Linked DNA regions of Homo sapiens: region 2 is linked to region 1. Evidence: promoter capture Hi-C in 16 types of primary human blood cells and fetal thymus (Javierre and others, 2016). All regions are on one chromosome and are shown on one strand. The core of a region is centred on a gene start or on the middle of the fragment in contact, and the rest is flanking DNA. Distances in the headings are between cores, read along the strand shown. Region 1 holds the start of COG7 (component of oligomeric golgi complex 7). Region 2 overlaps NDUFAB1 (NADH:ubiquinone oxidoreductase subunit AB1).

The links. The method cuts DNA at HindIII sites, captures the fragments that hold promoters and counts their contacts. A CHiCAGO score of 5 or more calls a contact.
Region 2: a fragment that was not itself captured here is called in contact with the fragment with the promoter of COG7 in region 1 in 1 of 17 cell types (naive B cells); the score reaches 5.1 in naive B cells.

What each region holds. Positions count from the first base shown.
Region 1 is chr16:23,451,710-23,455,657 of GRCh38, reverse strand. COG7 (component of oligomeric golgi complex 7) reads left to right here and starts at 2,469. Exons shown (of 17, transcript NM_153603.4): 1 at 2,469-2,832. The coding sequence starts at 2,664. LOC124903667 (a long non-coding RNA gene) reads right to left here and starts at 2,915. Exons shown (of 2, transcript XR_007065030.1): 1 at 2,393-2,915; 2 at 1-188. RefSeq lists enhancers at 2,140-2,189, 2,480-2,809. The HindIII fragment of the contact is 18,303 bases long and covers 1-3,948 here.
Region 2 is chr16:23,587,028-23,591,337 of GRCh38, reverse strand. It overlaps NDUFAB1 (NADH:ubiquinone oxidoreductase subunit AB1), which reads left to right. Exons shown (of 5, transcript NM_005003.3): 2 at 4,019-4,141. Among named protein-coding and RNA genes, the nearest start is that of NDUFAB1, 7.1 kb to the left of the region's middle. The HindIII fragment of the contact is 6,808 bases long and covers 1-4,310 here.

The DNA of each region.
Region 1 (3,948 bases), core at 1,220-3,719:
TCCTGCCTCAGCCTCCTGAGTAGCTGGGATTACAGGTGCACACAACCACGCCAGGCTGTTTTTGTATTTTCAGTAGAGACGGGGTTTCACCATGTTGGGCAGGCTAGTCTTGTATGGAACTCCTGACCTTGTGATCCTCCTGCCTCGGCCTCCCAAAGTGCTGGGATTGCAGGCATGAGCCACTGCACCTAGAAAAGGAAATACTTATAAATAAATAAATTTAACAAAATAAGTGCAAGACTTGTATTATACAATGAAAACTACAAAATATTGCTGAGAGAAATTAAAGAAGATCTAAATCAGATCTAAATCCCCAGGGGTGATTCCTACTAGGGAACACTTGGCACTGTGTGGACAGATTTTTGGTTGCCACAACTTGGAGAGGATGTTGCTCCTAATGGGTAGCGGCCAGGGATGCTGCGAAATATCTTACAATGCATAGGACAGCCCCCATAACTAAAAATTATCTGGGCTCAGTAGTGCCAAGGCTGAAAAATTCCCATCTAAATAAATGAAGAGGCGTTTCATGCTATGGATTGGAACAGTCAATATTGTCATGATGGCAATTCTCCTAAAATTAATCCAACAATTCAACAGTTCAACATAATCCCTGTCAAAATCCCAGCAGGATTTTTTTTTTTTTTGGGGGGGATGGAGTCTCGGTCTGTTGCCCAGGCTGGAGTGCAGTGGCGGATCTCGGTTCACTGCAACCTCTGCCTCCTAGGTTCAAGCGATTCTCCTGCCTCTGCCTCCTGAGTGGCTGGGATTACAGGCGCGTGCCACCATGCCCAGCTAATTTTTTTATTATTAGTAGAGATGGGGTTTGACCATGTTGGTCAGGCTGGTCTCAAACTCCTGACCTCATCATCTGCCTGCCTCGGCCTCCCAAAGTGCTGGGATTACAGGCGTGAGCCACTGTGTCCTGCCTAAATTTTTAACAAGAGCAAAGTAAGAGGACTTACACTATCAGATTGCTCCCCTCGTCTCCCCTCCCTGCATTGCTCCCCTCCTCTCTCCTTCCCTCCTCTCCCCTCCCCCCAAATAACTGGGACTCCTAGCAGAAGGGTTACCCCAGTTAAAACCTACTCAACCCAGAAGAATGAGACAAACCAAGGGAGATGCCAATGAAAAACGAGTGACTATCAGGCCTGGAGATGGCAGCCAGCCACTCATACCCCAATGGCAGGCCAACCTGGAAAACTGTCCCCTGTAGGGTTTCCAAGGATGACATCTTGTCCTCCCCCTTGGGTTGGTCCCACTCTTGAAACAACATAAAAACTTAGAACCTAAAGAATACCCTCATACCTTCCCCTACCTTTTCTTCTTTTCTTTTCGAGACAGGGTCTCGCTCTGTCACCCAGGCTGGAGTGCAGTGGCGTGATCACAGCTCACTGCAGCCTCGACCTCCTGGGCTCAGGCAATCCTCTCACCCCAGCCTCTCGAGTAGCTGAGACTACAGGTGTGCGCCACCACACTCAGCTAATTTTTAATTTTTTTGCAGAGACGGGGTCTTCCTATGTTGCCCAGGCTGAGAAATTGTTTGTGATTATGGGTTATGCACAGATTTCTCAGCCGCAACACCAAAAGCATGATCCATAAAAAAAGGTGATAAGGAACTTAACAAACTTTAAAAGGTCTGCACCTCAAAACACATCATTAAGAAAATAATTAGTTAGGCCAGGCGCGGTGACTCACGCCTGTGATCCCAACACTTTGGGAGGCCGAGGCAGGCGGATCACCTGAGGTTGGGAGTTTGAGGCCAGCCTGGCCAGCGTGGTGAAACCCCATCTCTACTAATAATACAAAAAGTAGCCGGGCGTGGTGGCACGCGCCTGTAATCCCAGCTACTCGGGAGGCTGAGGCAAGACACTCGCTTGAACCTGGGAGGCGGAGGTTGCAGTGAGCCGAGATCGCGTCACTTCGCTCCAACCTGGGCGACAGAGCAAGACTCCGTCTCAGAAAAAAATAAAGAAAGAAAGAAAAAGAAAGAAATAGCCGGGCGTGTTGTCGCGCGCCTGTAGTCCCAGCTACTCTGGAGGCTGAGGTGGGAGGATCGCTGGAGCCCAGAAATTTGAGGCTGCAGTGAGCTGAGATCGTTCAATTGCCCAGGAATTTGAGGCTGTAGTGAGCAGAGATCGTTCAATTGCACTCCATTGCTGCCCACTGCGCTCCACTGTTGCCCAGGCTGTCCTAGAACTCCTGGCCTCAAGCGATTCTCCCGCGTCAGCTTCCTAAAGAGCTGGGATTACAGGCGCGAGCCACCGCGTAAATGCGCTAATGTATGTCAGGGCTTTATAGTAAGCATATAGTTTAGTCCTCGGCAAATGTTAGCAGACATGGGATATTTGTCGGTGCCGGGAGCTCTCAGTCCGGGGCGTTTTCCCACACCCACCTCTGCTCAGCGCTCCGGACGCCTGCAGTCACTATGGTAACGGCCAACGACTTCCGGAAGAAGAACGGCGGGCGGCGAGGGTCATTCCCAGCCGCAAACTGAGTGCGCTGAGCGGGGAAGCGCAAAGGGGCAAGTTACCCGTCCTGGCGTTTCTGGGGTTCGCCTCGGAGGCTAGCCTCGGTGCTCTCGCAGGCTCGCTCGCTTCTGCATCCCCGTTGCCGCCCGGAGCCAACTCTTAAGTTCTGGACGCCAGGCCTGAGGCAGTTCCGCCATGGACTTCTCCAAGTTCCTGGCAGACGACTTCGACGTGAAGGAGTGGATCAATGCGGCCTTCAGGGCCGGCTCCAAGGAGGCGGCGTCCGGGAAGGCGGATGGCCACGCAGCCACCCTGGTGATGAAGCTGCAGCTGTTCATCCAAGAGGTGAACCACGCCGTGGAGGGTGAGCCGCTCGGGGCCCTGGCCGCGGGACCCTCCCCTGCTCTCGGCTGGGCAGAGGTCACCGAACTTGCGTGAGGCACTCAGGTGGGCGGGGCACGCATGGACAGCAAATACCCTCGGCAAAAGAGCAAGCCCCGAACTCCTGATCACGTCAGCGGGAGTCTCAGCTGGGTGCCGGGCTGTCTTGAACACTTGCTAATTTTGGGTGTTGTTTTTCCTCCTCTGGCTGGGCTATAAGTTTCCTTTTTCTTTTCTTTCTTTCTCTTTGTTTTTTCTTTTGAAACAGGGTCTCTCTACAGTGGCTCGATCATAGCTCACTGCAGCCTCGAACTCCTGCACTCAAGCGATCCTCTCGCCTCTCGAGTCGCTAGGACTACAGGCGCGAGCCACCGCGCCCCACAAATTCTGTTTAAAAAAAAAATTGTAGAGATGGGATCTCACTGTGTTGCCAGGCTGGTCTCAAATTCAAATTCCTGGGCATAATGGGTTTTCCAGTCTTGGCCTCCCAAAGTACTGTGATTATACCTGTGAGCCACCACATCTGGCCTGAAGTTTCCTTTTGGAACTTAAAAGAGTGGATCTTATTGCAGTAGCTCTTCTCTAAATAATTCAATAGCAGATCTCTGGGATTCCCTTTTTATTATTATCCATAGGCACTGGAAGACAAGATGGATCTTTTTAAATGCTAGAAGTTTTAACCAGTTCTTAACATGTCTTTGTTGAGGCACCTTCCAGAATATAAGATAAAACAACTCCAGTTTCTGTTATAGTGACTTGAATCTCAGAGTCAAGAGCCCAGTGTCAAAGAAAATTGGCTTTGACTTTTTGTAATCTAGGAGCACGAGTCTGTGAGGTGTTTATTCAAAGAGTTAAAGAGCCTGTTTTGTACCAAACAATAAACTGTAAAAAGAAAAAAAAAGTGAATTTTGAGAGTATGAAAGAATAGCCAACAGATCCATATATCTGGAAAAAACGTATTATAGTATAGGTATAAGAGAATGACACAGATCTAGAAAACATTGTTTTAGTGGATTTTATTTCAGCTGAGGAAGATAGGCTGGTCTCAGTGGAGACTTAAACCTTTTTTTTTTTTTTTTTTTTGAGACAGGGTCTCATT
Region 2 (4,310 bases), core at 1,520-4,019, 140 kb before region 1:
CAGAGGGTCATCACTCTTTACCTGCAAACAGTACCTTCTCTGATGTCTGGGAGAGGTGGTTTATTTCCCATATACTTGTTAAGTGTAGATCTTGGGGAAGAACAACTAACACCAGAAACATCACATGTTGGCTGTTGGGGAGGTGCTTGTCCATTTTGTATCCCTTTTATTTTTTCCCAATCAACAGAGATCCAGTTAGAAGGAGCAGCAAGACCTTCCAGGAGGCCATGCTGGAAGGACATGGGGTGAGGAGGATACCTAACCTTCCCTTGCCTCAGTTTCTCATCTGTAAAAAGGAGGGTGATAGTATCATGGATCTCACCAGAATACTGGAGAGCTGAAGAAAGATGATGTGTGTAAAGTGCAATATCATAGCCTGAGCTGATAAGAAATTAATGGAGGCCGGGACGTGGTGGCTTATGCATGTAATCCCAGCACTTTGAGAGGCTGAGGTGAGTGGATCACTTGAGACCAGGAGTTCAGGACCAGCCTGGCCAACATGGTAAAACCTCATCTCCACTAAAAATACAGAAATTAGCCAGGCATGGTGGTGCACGCCTGTAATCCCAGCTACTTGGGAGGCAGAGGCATAAGAATCACTTGAACCTGGGAGGCAGAAGTTGTGGTGAGCCAAGGTCACAACACTGCACTCCAGCCTGGGCAACACAGTGAGACTCTGTCTGAAAAAAAAAAAAAAAAGAGACCAGAGGCAGGAGCATGAGAGGGTAGTAGGATCAAGTATTTTGGGGCTACGCTACAGCCAAGGTATCAAACTAGCTGCTGCTGGTCATTGTTCTCAGGATCCTACTAAATAACCCTAAATAGCACTTACTGTGTTAAGTGCCAGCCAATGTCCAAGCCTTTACTTCATCTCACTGATGCTTCACAACAGTCCTGTGAGTGTGGTACTGTTGTTTATCCCCATTTTACAGATGAGGAAACTGAGATGTAGAAGGTTAAGTAACCCACCCAAGGCCAAACAACTAGTGAGAGCCAGCACCATGGTGCAGGCATAGGTGGTCTAGTTTCAGCGTCTGAGCTCTTGCCCACTAACTTACTGCCTCACGCTGATCCTGATGCAGCACCCACTCTAGATTGGCATGTGGCCTCCAGTCAGAGACTCGTTTAATTTAATCACATGGTGCCCACCTGGCCCTTGTAGGTACTTGCTGGAGCTGCTGAGGACAATGCTGACAACCTAGTTGGCCTCATGGGTAGTTGTGTACGAACATAGAATATACCCTCACCAGGGGTCTTGCTTTGTTGCCCAGGTTGGTCTGGAACTCCTGGGCTCAAGCGATCCTTCCACTTTGGCCTCCCAAAGTGTTGGGATTACAGGCGTGAGCCACCACACCTGGCATCGTACCATTTCTTTTTTTTTTTTTTTTTTTTTTTCTTTTTGGAGACAGAGTCTCACCCTGCCGCCCAGGCTGGAGTGTAGAGCCATGATCTCAGTTCACTGCAACCTCTGCCTCCTAGGTTCAAGTGATCCTCCCACTTCAGCCTCCTGATTAGCTGGGATTATAGGCACACGCCACGATGCCCGGCTAATTTTTGGACTTTCAGTAGAGATGGAGGTTTCACTGTGTTGGGCAGGCTGGTCTTAAACTCCTGACCTCAAGAGATCCGCCCACCTTGGCCTCCCAAAGTGCTGGGATTACAGGCGTGAGCCACCACACCTGGCCTCGTACCATTTCTTGATAAGCACACAGCCTCTGTTAGATCCCTCCAACTGAAATTTCTTTTCTGCCATTGCCATATTACCTCATTTCTTCTCCCCCTTTCTCTTTATTCCTTTCTTCTCCATTTTATTTGTGACTTGGAAACCTATTTGAGTCATTGTTAAGTAGGCCGGTCATGTGCCTGTATAAAAGGTCTCCTTAACCCATGTATAATACGAAAGGAGACTAGACATTTAGACAAAGAAACATGCTCTAAAACTCTTGAAAGTACTCAGAAAGGCTCGTTAGAATATCTATCATACTCTCCAACTCATCTCTTTAGTTTGCTGATTAAACCTGATTTTTTTTTTTTTTTTCTTGAGACGGAATCTCACTCTGTCACCCATGCTGGAGTGTAAATGGCATGATCTTGGCTCACTGCAACCTCCGACTCCCAAGTTCAAGCGATTCTTCTGCTTCAGCCTCCTGAGTAGATGGGATTACAGGCACATGTTACCACGCCCAGCTAACTTATATTTTTGGTAGAGACGGGGTTTCTCCATGTTGGTCAGGCTAGTGTCGAACTCCTGACCTCGTGATCCGCCTGCTTCGGCTTCCCAAAGTGTGGCAATTACAGGTGTGAGCCACTGCGCCCAGCCTAAACCTGATTTTAATAACTGACTTCTTTTTCTTTTCTTTTTTGAGACAGAGTCTCGCTCTGTGGCCCAAGGTGGAGTGCAGTGGCACAGTCTCGGCTCACTGCAACCTCTGTCTGGGTTCAAGCAATTCTCATGCCTCAGCTACCTGAATAGCTGGGATTACAGGCACACACCACCACGCCCAGCTAATTTTTGTATTTTTAGTAGAGACGAGGCTTCACCATGTTGGCCAGGCTGGTCTCGAACTCCTGGCCTCAAGTGATTGGCTCACCTCGGCCTCCCAAAGTGCTGGGATTACAGGTGTGAGACACACATCGGCCCAATACCTGTTCTTTATGCAAGATGAATGTTTCTTCTACAGAGGTTATACTGGTTTGGTTCTCTGGGCAGTATTTATTATGATTTTTCATGGACCTTTGTGAGTTTCAGGGACCTGAGCCCTAACAAGCAGCCCCACTTTCTATAGGGAAATGCCTGAAGAACGCCAAGCCTCGGACTTAAAATCAACTTCAGGAGGTAAACAAACCAATTTAGATTAGGGATTTCTTTCTTTTTCTTTTTTTTGAGACGGAGTCTTGCTTTGTCGCCCAGGCTGGAATGCAATGGCGCAGGCTCGGCTCACTGCAACCTCTCCTCCCACATTCAAGCGATTCTCCTTCCTCAGTCTCCTGAGTAGCTGGGATTACAGGCGCCCACCACCACGCCTGGCTAATTTTTGTATTTTTAGTAGAGACGGGGTTTCACCATGTTGGCCAGGCTGGTCTCGAACTCCTGACCTCAGGTGATCTGCTCACCGTGGCCTCCCAAAGTGTTGTGATTATAGGCGTGAGCCACCACGACTAGCCAGATTAGGGATTTCAGTAGTGAGCAAAACTGCCAGATACCCTGTTTTGTTTTCTCTGATTCTGCGTCGTACCTTCCACAGCATTAAACCCCCTGACCTGTAATTGCAGCTCATTCCACATTTGTTGAATGAAATCTGGTCAATACCCTAATACCTAAACATTGAGCCGACTAATACCAGAGATACGTGAGGTATTGCTCTAACATGGCACAGGCCAGAAGGGCTCATGGTTTGGCTGGTGGCCATGAGGCAAGCCTCGCTGGAAGGGAAACAGATTGGAATGTAGTGACTGTAAGCTCCCTCATCCCCTCTTTGGGTGGGAGGCCAGCTTCCTTTGTCCTGGCTGAGATCAGGGAGATAACTGCTGGAACCAAACTAGACCTTTCTGGTGTATGGTCCTCAATTTGAATTGCCTTTGGGTTTACCATGACAGCTCTTTCCTTTTGGGTTATTTTGACTTGGGTCAGCCTATTAAAGGTGGCAGCACCCTGTAGAGGCCTCGGGATGCTGAAGATGCCATGAGAAGACACAGGCATTCTGCAGACGCTAGACAATTTTAGTGGCAGTTAGTGTCGCAGAGCAGTATGAATGTCCAGAGCCTGAGGGTTGAAGCCAGGAGGCAGAGGGGCCGGTCCTGACTCCCAGGAAGGAGGCCTGAGATGCTGCTGAACTGTTGGGGCTTCTGCGATTACCCAGTCCTGCAACTTAGTGTGTCCTGGTGGCCACAATGAGAATCAGATGCTGTGGGTTCTCTAAAGCCCCGAAAGTTCTGTGAAAGTTACCTATAGGCTTGTGCATTGATTTAGAGGTATTTTCCATTCAATGACAGTGTTTCCTTCCTGCCGTCGCTCTAGGTTCCTGGTAGAGTTACACAGTTGTGCCGCCAGTATAGCGACATGCCTCCTTTGACGTTAGAGGGCATCCAGGACCGTGTTCTTTACGTATTGAAACTCTATGACAAGATTGACCCAGAGAAGGTAACTGATGGTGGTTTGAATTTTTTTCTTTAAATATAGAGTATTTAATTACATGCTAGAAAATGCAAAGGGAAAGATACTCAGTAAAAATCTCCCTGGCTCCCAGACACCCAGGCCCATTCTGGGAGATAGCCAGCGCTACCAGTTTCATGTATGTTTCCAAAGGTAC